Regions from separate parts of the Homo sapiens genome. Here all the other regions are linked to region 1. Evidence: promoter capture Hi-C in 16 types of primary human blood cells and fetal thymus (Javierre and others, 2016). All regions are on one chromosome and are shown on one strand. Each heading gives the region's core, a stretch centred on a gene start or on the middle of the fragment in contact. The rest is flanking DNA. Distances are from core to core; before and after follow the strand shown.

Region 1 (3,693 bases), core at 651-3,150:
TCCAATCACTCGAAGACAGGCAAAACTGAACCACTGGCTGGGCCCACCTTAAATCAGTGACATCAACCTCTGCAGGCAAGGCTCAAGTATCAGTACATTTTAAAACAACTTTGCCCACTGAAGGTTCACTTAATCAACTGATAAGGCCGGGTGCGGTGGCTCATGCCTGTAATTCCAGCGCTTTGGATGCCTGTAATCCCAGCATTTTGGGAGGCCGAGGCGGGCGGATCACCTGAGGTCAGGAGTTCAAGACCAGCCTAGCCAACATGGCAAAACCCCGTCTCTACAAAAATACAAAAATTAGCTGGACGTGGTGGTGTGTGCCTGTAATCCCAGCTACTGGGGAGGCTGAGGTGGGAGAATCGCTTGAACCCCGGAGGCGGAGGCTGCAGTGAGCCGAGATCGCGCCACTGCACTTCAGCTTGGGCGACAGAGTGAGACTCTATCTAAAAAAAAAGAAAAAAAAAATCAACTGATAACAGGCGATTAACAGGAGAAAAGGGATACATAACACCGGGGTAAAAGCAGGAGGATGATTACCCAGTAGCTTAATGGAGTACAGAAGATTTTATATCTTTTTTTCATAGGGGAAAGGGTAGATGAGAAATGTAGACATTTATTTTGAGGAGCAGCAAATGATTATTAGGAACAATGAATGGACAGAAATTAGTAAATAATTTTCTTTTGAGTAATCTTGTGAAAAAGTCCCTCCAGGAATGGCTGCATTTCTGAGTCTTTTTGAAATAGGATACGAGATTTCAGCGAGGGGAGGAATGCGATTGATTCTTCTACAAAGAGGCTTCTCTAGTCAGGAAAGGAAATTTCAGAGAGTACCTCCCTGCACTTGGGAAAAGTGGGAGCAACAAGTCAAGGTTGGGGGACCTGCATTATGAGGCAGCTTCTAAAGCCTCTGTCTTTGGGGTATCGCTTTCTGAGCGTCAAGAGTAAAACGTGATGCATTCCTTTCCTTCCAACCTAGATTCTAGTAGTTTAGATCAGTATCATTGTTTTTACTTCAAGGTTCAGGAAACGCTGGAAATTGCTAGCTAATATCACAGGAAAAAAAACAAAAAACACGAGGTTGACCTCACCCTACCCGCGGTAGGTAACCATGTATGAATAGAGACTCCCAGGCATAATCAAATTACCTCTGTCAAGTCCTCGCCCTAAGACTATTTTTGGAAACTAGGGATTTTCCAGATTACTGAAAGCCGTGGCGGTGTCAAAGGCCGGGCAGGAGTTTCGCAAGCGGAGCTATGAAAGCAGCCACTCTCGCGGTCATTCCTATGCCTCCGCCCTACTTCCCCATACTGGCAAAAACACGCTCCCCGGGGAGCTTTCATTTGGGAACCGATAGGGTCCACAGCCCTGTGTTCTTCAAATACTGTAAAGCAGCCCTCTCCAGATTCCTTGAGGGTCACTTTATATTACACATTCGTCCACACAGGACAACAAAGTCACCACTTCCACCCGCCAAAGCGCGCTCAGGTCGGCCGCCACTTCCCTTGGTACACGCGGAACGCAAGCCGCGCCGAGGCTAAAGGAAGAGGCCGGAATGCAGGGCGAAGGGGCGCAGAGATGCTAGCCAATGCTGCCACCTCTATTTTGGGTATAAGGGATCTTGTAAAGCTCCGTTATTCGTGTGGCTATCACAAACAAGGTGGTTTCGACCGGCCTTGGCTAGAGAAGGCCTCCTCAGCCTCTGAGGATCCCAAGGTCTGTCGCAGCACCCAACACTCCCCTCGCAGGCCCAGATGCCGAGGGCGGAGGCGCGGCCTGGAGGGACTAGTTGGCGCGCGGCTGCCCGGCGTGGTGACGTCAGGGCGGAAGCGCACGCGGCGTGAAGCGGCCCAGAACCCGGCGGTCACGGGAATATCCGTCGCGCCGAGAACGCTGGTTAGTCTTGTTTCGGGTTCCGGCTGCGTTGGGCTTGCGTGCGGCTCGCTAAGACTATGGCGTCCGGGCCTCATTCGACAGCTACTGCTGCCGCAGCCGCCTCATCGGCCGCCCCAAGCGCGGGCGGCTCCAGCTCCGGGACGACGACCACGACGACGACCACGACGGGAGGGATCCTGATCGGCGATCGCCTGTACTCGGAAGTTTCACTTACCATCGACCACTCTCTGATTCCGGAGGAGAGGCTCTCGCCCACCCCATCCATGCAGGATGGGCTCGACCTGCCCAGTGAGACGGACTTACGCATCCTGGGCTGCGAGCTCATCCAGGCCGCCGGCATTCTCCTCCGGCTGCCGCAGGTCAGTGCTCCGGCCCCGGGCCGGCCGGGCGCTCCTCTCCTCTCCTCCGTCCCCTACGCCGCATCTCAGTATCACCGTGCCCCGGGAGGGTGGGGACGGTTCCTTCAGGCTTTCCCGTTCGGGGCCCAGCCGCGGCCGGGGCGTGCCGGGGCGGGGGGCTGCGGAGGCGGAGGGAGGACTTGGCAGCGGGCTGTTCGCAGCGGCGGCGGCGGCGGGAGGGGAAAGGGAAGCGATCGGCGGCACAAAATGGCGGCGGCGCCTGGAGCGGGCCCGCCTGACCCCTGCGCTTCCGTTCTCCTCTCTTGTCTGCAGGTGGCGATGGCAACGGGGCAGGTGTTGTTTCATCGTTTTTTCTACTCCAAATCTTTCGTCAAACACAGTTTCGAGGTAAGCACAGCGGAGGCGGGTAAAAGGGATTTCTTCATCCGGAAATGGGCAGAGTAGGGGTAGTGTCAGCAGCCAGCTTTTCCAGAAAGGGAGTGGTTTAGTTTAGGCCTTTGTACCTACTTCTCACTCGCCAGGAAGTGGAAACCTTTAGAATGTGGTTCAAAATCGATCACGAGCCTAAGTGCCCTCTTAACGAAAAGTACAGTTTTCAACCAAATGCAGAACTCCTGTAAGATTGAGTTTGACTCTGGAACCAAAATTAAGATGAGTTAAACAACAAAAAGTATAGTACTAGCATAGCTGGTAGACTTACGGCATAGAGATGTCTTCTCTAATTTTACTAAAGGTTGTCCCAATTGTGTTCTAAATTTTATTCTTCAAAGTGAGTTTAATCTAACAATGGCTTTTGTGGCTCATGGGTTCTTTCAGATTGTTGCTATGGCTTGTATTAATCTTGCATCAAAAATCGAAGAAGCACCTAGAAGAATAAGAGATGTGATTAATGTATTCCACCACCTCCGCCAGTTAAGAGGAAAAAGGTAAGATTGGCATTATTGAACATAGTATCTCTTGCTACTGCTGTACCGTGCACCAGTCATCAAATCAAAACATCTTTCCTTTCAAGTGAATACGGATGCAAAAGAAAACGGACTTTAATTTAGGTGTTAAAGTTCATATAGGAACACTGATACTTAAAATAATTTGAAAAAAGAAACATAATTAACCGGTTATCTAAAGTTTGTAGAGGCAGTTGCATTTATGGACAATCCTAACAGTGCTGTGAAGCCAGGCCTGTGGCTTAAGATTAAACAAGAAAGGGAGTACATTTGGCTCAAGTGTGAGTGTATTCTGTAAGTTATTTTTCCTCTCCCCTCTCTGGAAGACTGAAGGCTGGAAGTTTAAACACTGTAGTTTAAGTTAATATTGTGGCAAAGTTCTGTGTAGATTATGTTTTTCTACTCGAAGTCCCAGTTAATTCTTTATCAATTGAGGTTGGCTTTTGTTAGAGTACTTCTCAACATTGAACTACGATAAATCGAATAATACCGGA
Region 2 (3,693 bases), core at 1-2,500, 460 kb after region 1:
ACTCTTAGGCATCTGATTCCCTGAGAATTGTGGCCTCTTTAACACCTATTTTTTTTTTATCCTTTGCATTTAATAACACTTAAAAACAAAACATCATGCCTGTAATCCCAGCTACTTGGGAGGCTGAGGCAGGAGGACTGCTTGAGGACAGGAGTTCAAGACCAGCCCCAGCAACATAGTGAGACCTTGTCTCTACACCAAAGAAAAAAAAAGAAAACATTAGCTGGGGATGGCAGCATCCACCTGTAAGTCCCAGCTACTTGGGAGGCTAAAGCAGGAGGATCACTTGAACCCAGGAGTGCGAGGTTACAGTGAGCTATGATGATCATACCACTGCACTCCACCCTGGGCGACAGAGGAAATTCTGTCTCTAAAAAAGTTTTAAAAAATATAAAAAATAAAAAATAAAAAAATAAAAAAGTTTTAAAAATTTAACAAAACAAAAACCACTTAAAAAGAAACATTTTCCCTGGCTAAGATCATAGCCTCTGGAATCTACTTCTAAAATATGCTTTTTGGAACCAATTCCCCTCATCTTTCTCCCTACTAGGTCCTTCAGCCCCACACTCTAGGGTAGATAGGATCACTGCATTTACCCATCCCACCCTGGTGGACTGGCTATTTCTCTGCTCTTTTCTCACTGAAGTTTAATATTTCTTTGATTTGCTGATCTCTTACTTTATACCTGATTATCAGTTTTAGACAGAAAGATTAAAATAGAAAATTTTTAAAAGAAAAAGGAAAATAAAGAGTAACTATTTTTGTTCTCTTGTAAGCCCATATTATCAATATATGACTACCTAGTAGATATTGAGCATTCTATTCCAGACCACTGCAATAAAGCAAATATCACAATAAAGTGAGTAATACAATTTTTTAGTATCCCAGTGCATATAAAAGTTATGTTTATACTATACCATAGTCTATTCAGTACATAATAGCATTCATTCTTTAAAAAAACAATATTTATACCTTAATTTAAAAATACTTCATTGCTAAAAAACACTAACAATCATCTGAGCCTTTGGTGAGTCATAGTAATTTTACTGGTGGGAGGGTTTTGCCTTGATGATGGCCTGACTGATCAGGGTGGTGATTGCTGAAGGTTGAGGTGGCAGTGGCAATTTATTAAAATAAGACAATGAAATTTGCCACATTAATTGACCCTTCCTTTCATGAAAGATTTCTGTTGCATGCAGTACCATCTGAAAGCATTTTACCCGCAGAACTTCTTTCAAAGTTGCAGTCAATCCTCCCAAACCTTGCTGTTGCTTTATCAACTAAGTTGATGTAATATTCCAAACCCTTTATTATTTCAAAAATCTTTACAGCATCTTCACCAGTAGATTCCATCTCAAGAAACCACTTTCTCTACTCATCCAAAAGAAGCAACTCCTCATGCATCCAAGTTTTATCATGAGATAGTAGCAATTCAGTCACATCTTCAGGCTACACTTCTACTTCTACCTCTCTTGCTATTGCCACCACATCTGCAGTGACTTCCTCCACTGAAGTCTTTAACCCTTCAAAATCATCCATGTGGGCTGAAATAAACTTCTTCCAAATTTCTGTTAATGTTGGTATGTTAACCCCCTCCCATGAATCACGATGTTCTTAATGGCATCTAAAATGGTAAATCCTTCCCAAAAGTTTTCCAATTTACTTTGCCCAGATCCATTAAAGGAACCACTATGTATGGCAGCTATAGCCTTACAAAATATACTGTTAAAATAGGAGGTCTTGAAAGTCAGAATGACTACTTGATAAGTGGGCTGCAGAATGGATGTTGTATAGCAGGCATGAAAACACTAATCTGTACATCTCCATTAGAGCTCTTGGGTAACCAGGTGCATTGTCAATGAGCAGTAATAGTTTGAAATAAGTCTTTTTTTCTTGAGCAGGTCTCAATAGTGGGCTTAAAATATTCAGTAAACCATGCTATAAACAGATGTGCTGTCATCCACACTTTTTCCATTTATAGAGCACAGGCAGAGTAGATTTAGCACAATTTTCAAGGGCCCTAGGCTTCAACTTAAAGTCACCAGTTGCATTAGCCCTTGACAAGATAGCCCTGTCCTTTAAAGCCAAGCATCAACTTCTCTCTACCTATGAAGTCCTAGATGGCATCTTCTTCTAATATAAGTTTGTTTTGTCTACACTGAAAATCTCTTGTTTAGTTTAGCCACTGTCATCAATGATCTCAGCTAGATTTCTGGATAACTTGCTACAGCTTCTACATCAACACTCCCTGCTTCACCTTGCACTTCTATAAGAGAGATGGGCTCTTAAACCTCATGAACCAACCTCTGTTAGGTTTAAACTTTCTTCTGCAGCTTCCTCACCTCTCTCGGCCTTGAAAGAACTGAAAAAAGTTAGGGCCTTGCTCCGGATTAGGCTTTGGCTTAAGGGAATGTTGTAGCTGGTTTGATCTTTTATCCAGATCACTAAAACTTTCTCTATATTAGCAAGAAGGCTGTTTTACTTTCTTATAATTCGTGTGCTTACCAGAGTAGCACTTTTAATTTCCTTCAAGAACTTTTCCTTTGTATTCACAACTTGGCTAATGTTAAGGCACAAGAGGCCTAGCTTTTGGCTTATCTCAGCTTTCAACATGCCTTCCCCACTAAGCTTAATCATTTCTGGCTTTTGACTTAGAGATGTGTAACTCTTCCTTTCACTTGAACACTCTGCCGTCTTATGTGGGTGCTGTTCTTGGCACCCCAAAACAAATGTAACATAAAGATCACCGGTCAGATCACCATAACAGATACAATAATAATGAAACACCTGAAATATCCGAAGAATACCCGAAATATGATTCAGAGACACAAAATGAGCGCATGCTGTTGAAAATACAGCACTAATAGATTTGGCTTGACCTAGTGCTGCCACAGACCTTCAATTTGTAAAAAACACAATTATCTGTGAAGTACAATAAAGCAAAGCACCATAAAACAAGATATGCCTGTATAATGAAGGCATATTTGTGGCATTAATTGTATTGCTGCTTATATTATCTTTATAGTTCATACTTTTACAAAACAAGCCTAAGCTTCAAAAAAAAAAAAAAAAGAGGGCATATTCCATAATTACTTATCATGAGATAAAAACAGACGCATTTTCACCATTCACCGAAACTTTCCAACAATGCAGAACTTGCATTCTTACCCTCACACAGAAGTTCTATCTTGCTTGATTGGCTCAGCATGCCAAGCTGCTGGTCTCACTAATGGGTTCTACTATCTCACCAGGAGGACAATATATTCCTAACTACTGGACACTGACACTATCTCCAGCTGTGCTAGTAAAATCACAGAAATGGCATTTTTACTAGTTCTAATTTTTTAAGAAACCCTACAAGGTAAAATTTTTCTAACGGGCACTTAGAAGAAAGAACACACTTAACCCAATCCAATATATATTTCTAAGATTAATCTTACTACAAATTTCTTTTGGATACTGATCATTTCAGGGATTTTTATTTGTATTTTGTTTTTACTGTTCCCCTTCCAAACATGGGATTAGAATCACTAAGATTTTCTCATAACAACTTAGGGAAAACAGTTTGAGCTAAAATAAAAACAGTAGGAATATAAAAATGGTATCTTTTCCTCAAAGATCAGCACAAAAAAACCAACCATTACGCTAGACTTCTAAAGTTCATAAAACCAAGTAAACCTATACCATTTTCAA
Region 3 (3,693 bases), core at 863-3,362, 280 kb before region 1:
TTTGGTGTTTGTTTTTATGTTACACAGTACAGAAAGTTGTATAAGCTCCTAGAATTGTCAAATGGGAAGAGTCCTAGAGATTCTTATTTCATCAATTCCTTGATTTCTCAGCTGAGAAAACTAAAACCCACAGAGATGAATTGACTTGGCAGAGATAATATTTCTTGCTTATGATTTATAGGAAGCCAAACTTAAAACAAGTCTATAGTTGCTCATTCCTAACAATATTAACCATGCTGTTTACATAATAGTATCTGAAAACTAATTGCCTACTTTAAATGAAAAGAGAAAAGTACGAGTTTGCTCCAAAACATCTCTTAAATTTATAATTAAATGACGTGAGCTAGTTTTATAAAATATTTTATTTACAGTAGAGCTTTACAAAAATAGTCTTAAATTAATACAAATCCCTTTTGCAATATAACTTATATGACTATCTTCTCAAAAACGTGACATTCGATTATAACACATAAACTACATTTATAGTTGTTAAGTCACCTTGTAGTATAAATATGTTTTCATCTTTTTTTTGTAATAAGGTACATACCAATAACAATGAACAATGGACAACAAATCTTATTTTGTTATTCTTCCAATGTAAAATTCATCTCTGGCCAAAACAAAATTAACCAAAGAAAAGTAAAACAATTGTCCCTCTGTTCAACAATACAGTCCTTTTTAATTATTTGAGAGTTTATCTGACAGAGACACAGCATTAAACTGAAAGCACCATGGCATAAAGTCTAGTAACATTATCCTCAAAAGCTTTTTCCAATGTCTTTCCTTCAACTGTTTATTCAGTATTTGGCCAGTACAAATAAAGATTGGTCTCAACTCTCTCTTTCATTAGTCTCAAGTGTTCCTATTATGCACTGAGTTTTCAGACCTTCCCAACTGGCATGTGTTTTAAGTGTGAGTTTCTTTCTTTGGCTTCAAGTGGAGTTTCACAACATTTATGAAACATACTGAGCTCCTCCATGTGGCTGGATCTCTGTGACTCCCCACCCAACAATATTCCCCCGGATGTGACAAGACTCTGCTCCTCCGGTCTCTCTTATCTCTTCATTGCTAAGAACACTATCCCAGATATTGAAGCCTGTGAGTCTCCCAGAGAAGGCTAATGTTTCATCAAAGCCACCACCCACACAGCAGCCATTCTTTTCTTGGCCAATCTGCAGGATTCCTCCCTCAGGAACAATGTGACCTGTGGCCATCTCAACAGTGGTAGCCGCCAGTTCACCATTTACCCACAAGGATGTGAGCCCTTCCTCTGAATTCCAGGTGCCGCACAGGTGGGTCCACCTTCCCAGGGAAACCATGGCTTCAGCAACCAGTTTGTTCTCCTCTCCACCCACCACAAACACTATGGATTGGTAGCTGAGATACAGCTGGATTTCATATGGATTCCTCTTTGTGCCATAGGAAAACAGGATGGTTTTGTTTAATACATCTGTGGCTTTGACCCAAATGCAGGCACTAAAAGACTCAAGCCTCATTGGTCTCACTGGATGCACGCTTCCAAAAATCTTCTTGGAACGCATTGGGAATAAAATAGCTGTTTCACAACCTAGAGTAGCAAGAAAATAAGAAGAATATTAAAGAAAATATAAATTAATTCAGAATTATTCTGGCATTAGTTATTTAACATAAGAATTTTAATTATTACAATTGAAAGCTATGTGAAACCCTACATTACGACTTAAGAAGCTTCCACTGTAATCTCTGCAGAGCAAAGAAAATGAGAAAAAGGAAAGCCAATTGTCTTATCCAATGAAGCATCTAAATGAAGAGAAAGCACGCAAATAGAAGAGCCAACTAGTCCAAACCCACAAAATAATAAAAGCCATAACTACCTCCCCTTCCAATTTGCATATTTTCTTTGTTACTGCTTTTTTTTAAAAAAGTTGAATCACTATCAGTTAACTTCAGACAATAATTCTATAATTTCCAAGAATTCAGAACCCAACCTGGTTCTCTCTTTTTGCCACCACCAAGTTCCTAAAATAATAAACCTGTGAAATTCAGTAGACCTAGTTCGCTCCATTTAGCCTTTACCAACATGCATTTTTCAGCAAAATTCTAGGATAGTGATGTTATTGCAGAATACATTTTTTTTTTTTTTTGAGACAGAGTCTCACTCTGTCACCCAGGCTGGATTGCAGTAGTGCGATCTCGACTCACGGCAACCTTCGCTTCCCAGGTTCAAGCGATTCTCCTGCCTCAGCTTCCGGAGTAGCTGGGACTACAGGTGCACACCACTGCGCCCAGCTAACTATTGTATTTTTTTTTTAGACACGGGGTTTCACCATGTTGGCCAGGTTGGTCTTGAACTCCTGACCTCAAGATCCGCCTGCCTCAGCCTCCCAAAATGCTGGGATTACAGGCATGAGCCACCACACCTGGCCTGCAGAATACATTTTAATACACCAAATGTTCTCAGATATTTGTAAACTTTGCAGAGTTTTTAGAAAACTACCTTTGAAAGGCAACAATGTATAATAATGATGACTAAGCTTATTGGGCATTCACTATGTATCAGATACTGTTCTAATCATTTTGTTTGTCATTTTAATCCTTATGCCAACCATAAGAGATAGTCTTTTACATTCCTATTTTACAGATGAGAAAACTTAGGTAAAAGTAACTTATCTATGTTTACATAGCTGATAAGCAGTAAAACTAGAGTTTGAATTTTTGCAGTCTGGTCACAGAGGCCACGCCCTTAATCAGCACACTACAGTGCCTCTTATTAATAGAACCCCTAGATTTCTCTAGGAGGGCTAGAATCCAGATGGTGTTACTACTAATGAGCCATGCAACTTTGGATGAGCACCATAATTTCCTCTAGGCTTTAGCGTTATCTAAAAAAGGCCCTTCCATTCTGCTCCTAATATTCTGCAAGTCTGTAAGCAGCAAGTATGTAGCACTTAAGAGCTGAATAGACCAAAAATGTGTTTAAAAATTCTACCTTGTCCACATGCTTATAATTACTATTTAAGCAGTAATTGAAAATCTTTAAGAGAAGTACATTCTTTCAAGGGGCCTGGTTGGAGAACATGTTTCTGCTAAAGAGCACTTGGGAGGGGGACTTTCAAATTTGAGGTGGAAAGCTCAGTAAGTTTCCACCATTGTCCATCTCAAGGCGACTTAGCCATTTGGGAAGCTGGAGATGCTGAAACGAAAACCTTTTACGTGTCCCTGGGAAAGAACAGGTGAGCTCTGCATCTATATACATAAATATATATATATGTATGTATACGTATATATACACACATATATACATATGGATATGTATGTATGTATACATACATATATGTATATAAATGTGTGTGTATATATATGTGTGTATGTGTATGTAGGTATTTTTTTAAAAACACCTAAATTAGGGCAGGTATAACAACCTAAAGAAGATATGCCATAAGACAGCTTTGAAAAGCAAACTCCCAGAATGGTTCCAGAATAACTGGTAAAGAGAAAGAACTTGCAGAAACCAAACATCCATGTAAAAGTGTGGTAAACTATGTCAGATTCCTACAAGTGGCTCAGGGGTAGGCTCTATCCTGAAAACATTAAACAAATATGAACCTTATCCTTTAGTGTTAGGGATAGTCAAATAAAATATTGGCATTCAGATAATCATATAAAAGTAACTACAATACTAAAACACAAAACTGGCTCTGTCATGCTTTGATA

The links. Contacts are between HindIII fragments. The CHiCAGO score rates a contact against its expected background, and 5 or more counts as called.
Region 2: a fragment that was not itself captured here is called in contact with the fragment with the promoter of CCNL1 in region 1 in 7 of 17 cell types (naive CD8 T cells, M2 macrophages, total CD8 T cells and 4 more); the score reaches 8.8 in naive CD8 T cells.
Region 3: a contact is called between a fragment that was not itself captured here and the fragment with the promoter of CCNL1 in region 1, in 4 of 17 cell types (M0 macrophages, M2 macrophages, monocytes and 1 more). The highest score is 7.1, in M0 macrophages.

The regions. Positions count from the first base shown.
Region 1 is chr3:157,158,354-157,162,046 of GRCh38, reverse strand. It overlaps CCNL1 (cyclin L1), which reads left to right and starts at 1,900. Exons shown (of 11, transcript NM_020307.4): 1 at 1,900-2,255; 2 at 2,568-2,642; 3 at 3,072-3,181. The coding sequence starts at 1,953. RefSeq lists enhancers at 1,039-1,098, 1,119-1,168, 1,256-1,985, 2,619-2,688 and a silencer at 2,269-2,478. The HindIII fragment of the contact is 11,903 bases long and covers 1-3,693 here.
Region 2 is chr3:156,696,802-156,700,494 of GRCh38, reverse strand. All of the region lies in intron 4 of TIPARP (TCDD inducible poly(ADP-ribose) polymerase), which reads right to left. Among named protein-coding and RNA genes, the nearest start is that of TIPARP-AS1, 23 kb to the right of the region's middle. The HindIII fragment of the contact is 2,761 bases long and covers 1-2,630 here.
Region 3 is chr3:157,440,240-157,443,932 of GRCh38, reverse strand. All of the region lies in intron 4 of VEPH1 (ventricular zone expressed PH domain containing 1), which reads left to right. PTX3 (pentraxin 3) reads right to left here. Exons shown (of 3, transcript NM_002852.4): 3 at 300-1,567. The coding sequence ends at 954. Among named protein-coding and RNA genes, the nearest start is that of PTX3, 5.2 kb to the right of the region's middle. The HindIII fragment of the contact is 806 bases long and covers 1,710-2,515 here.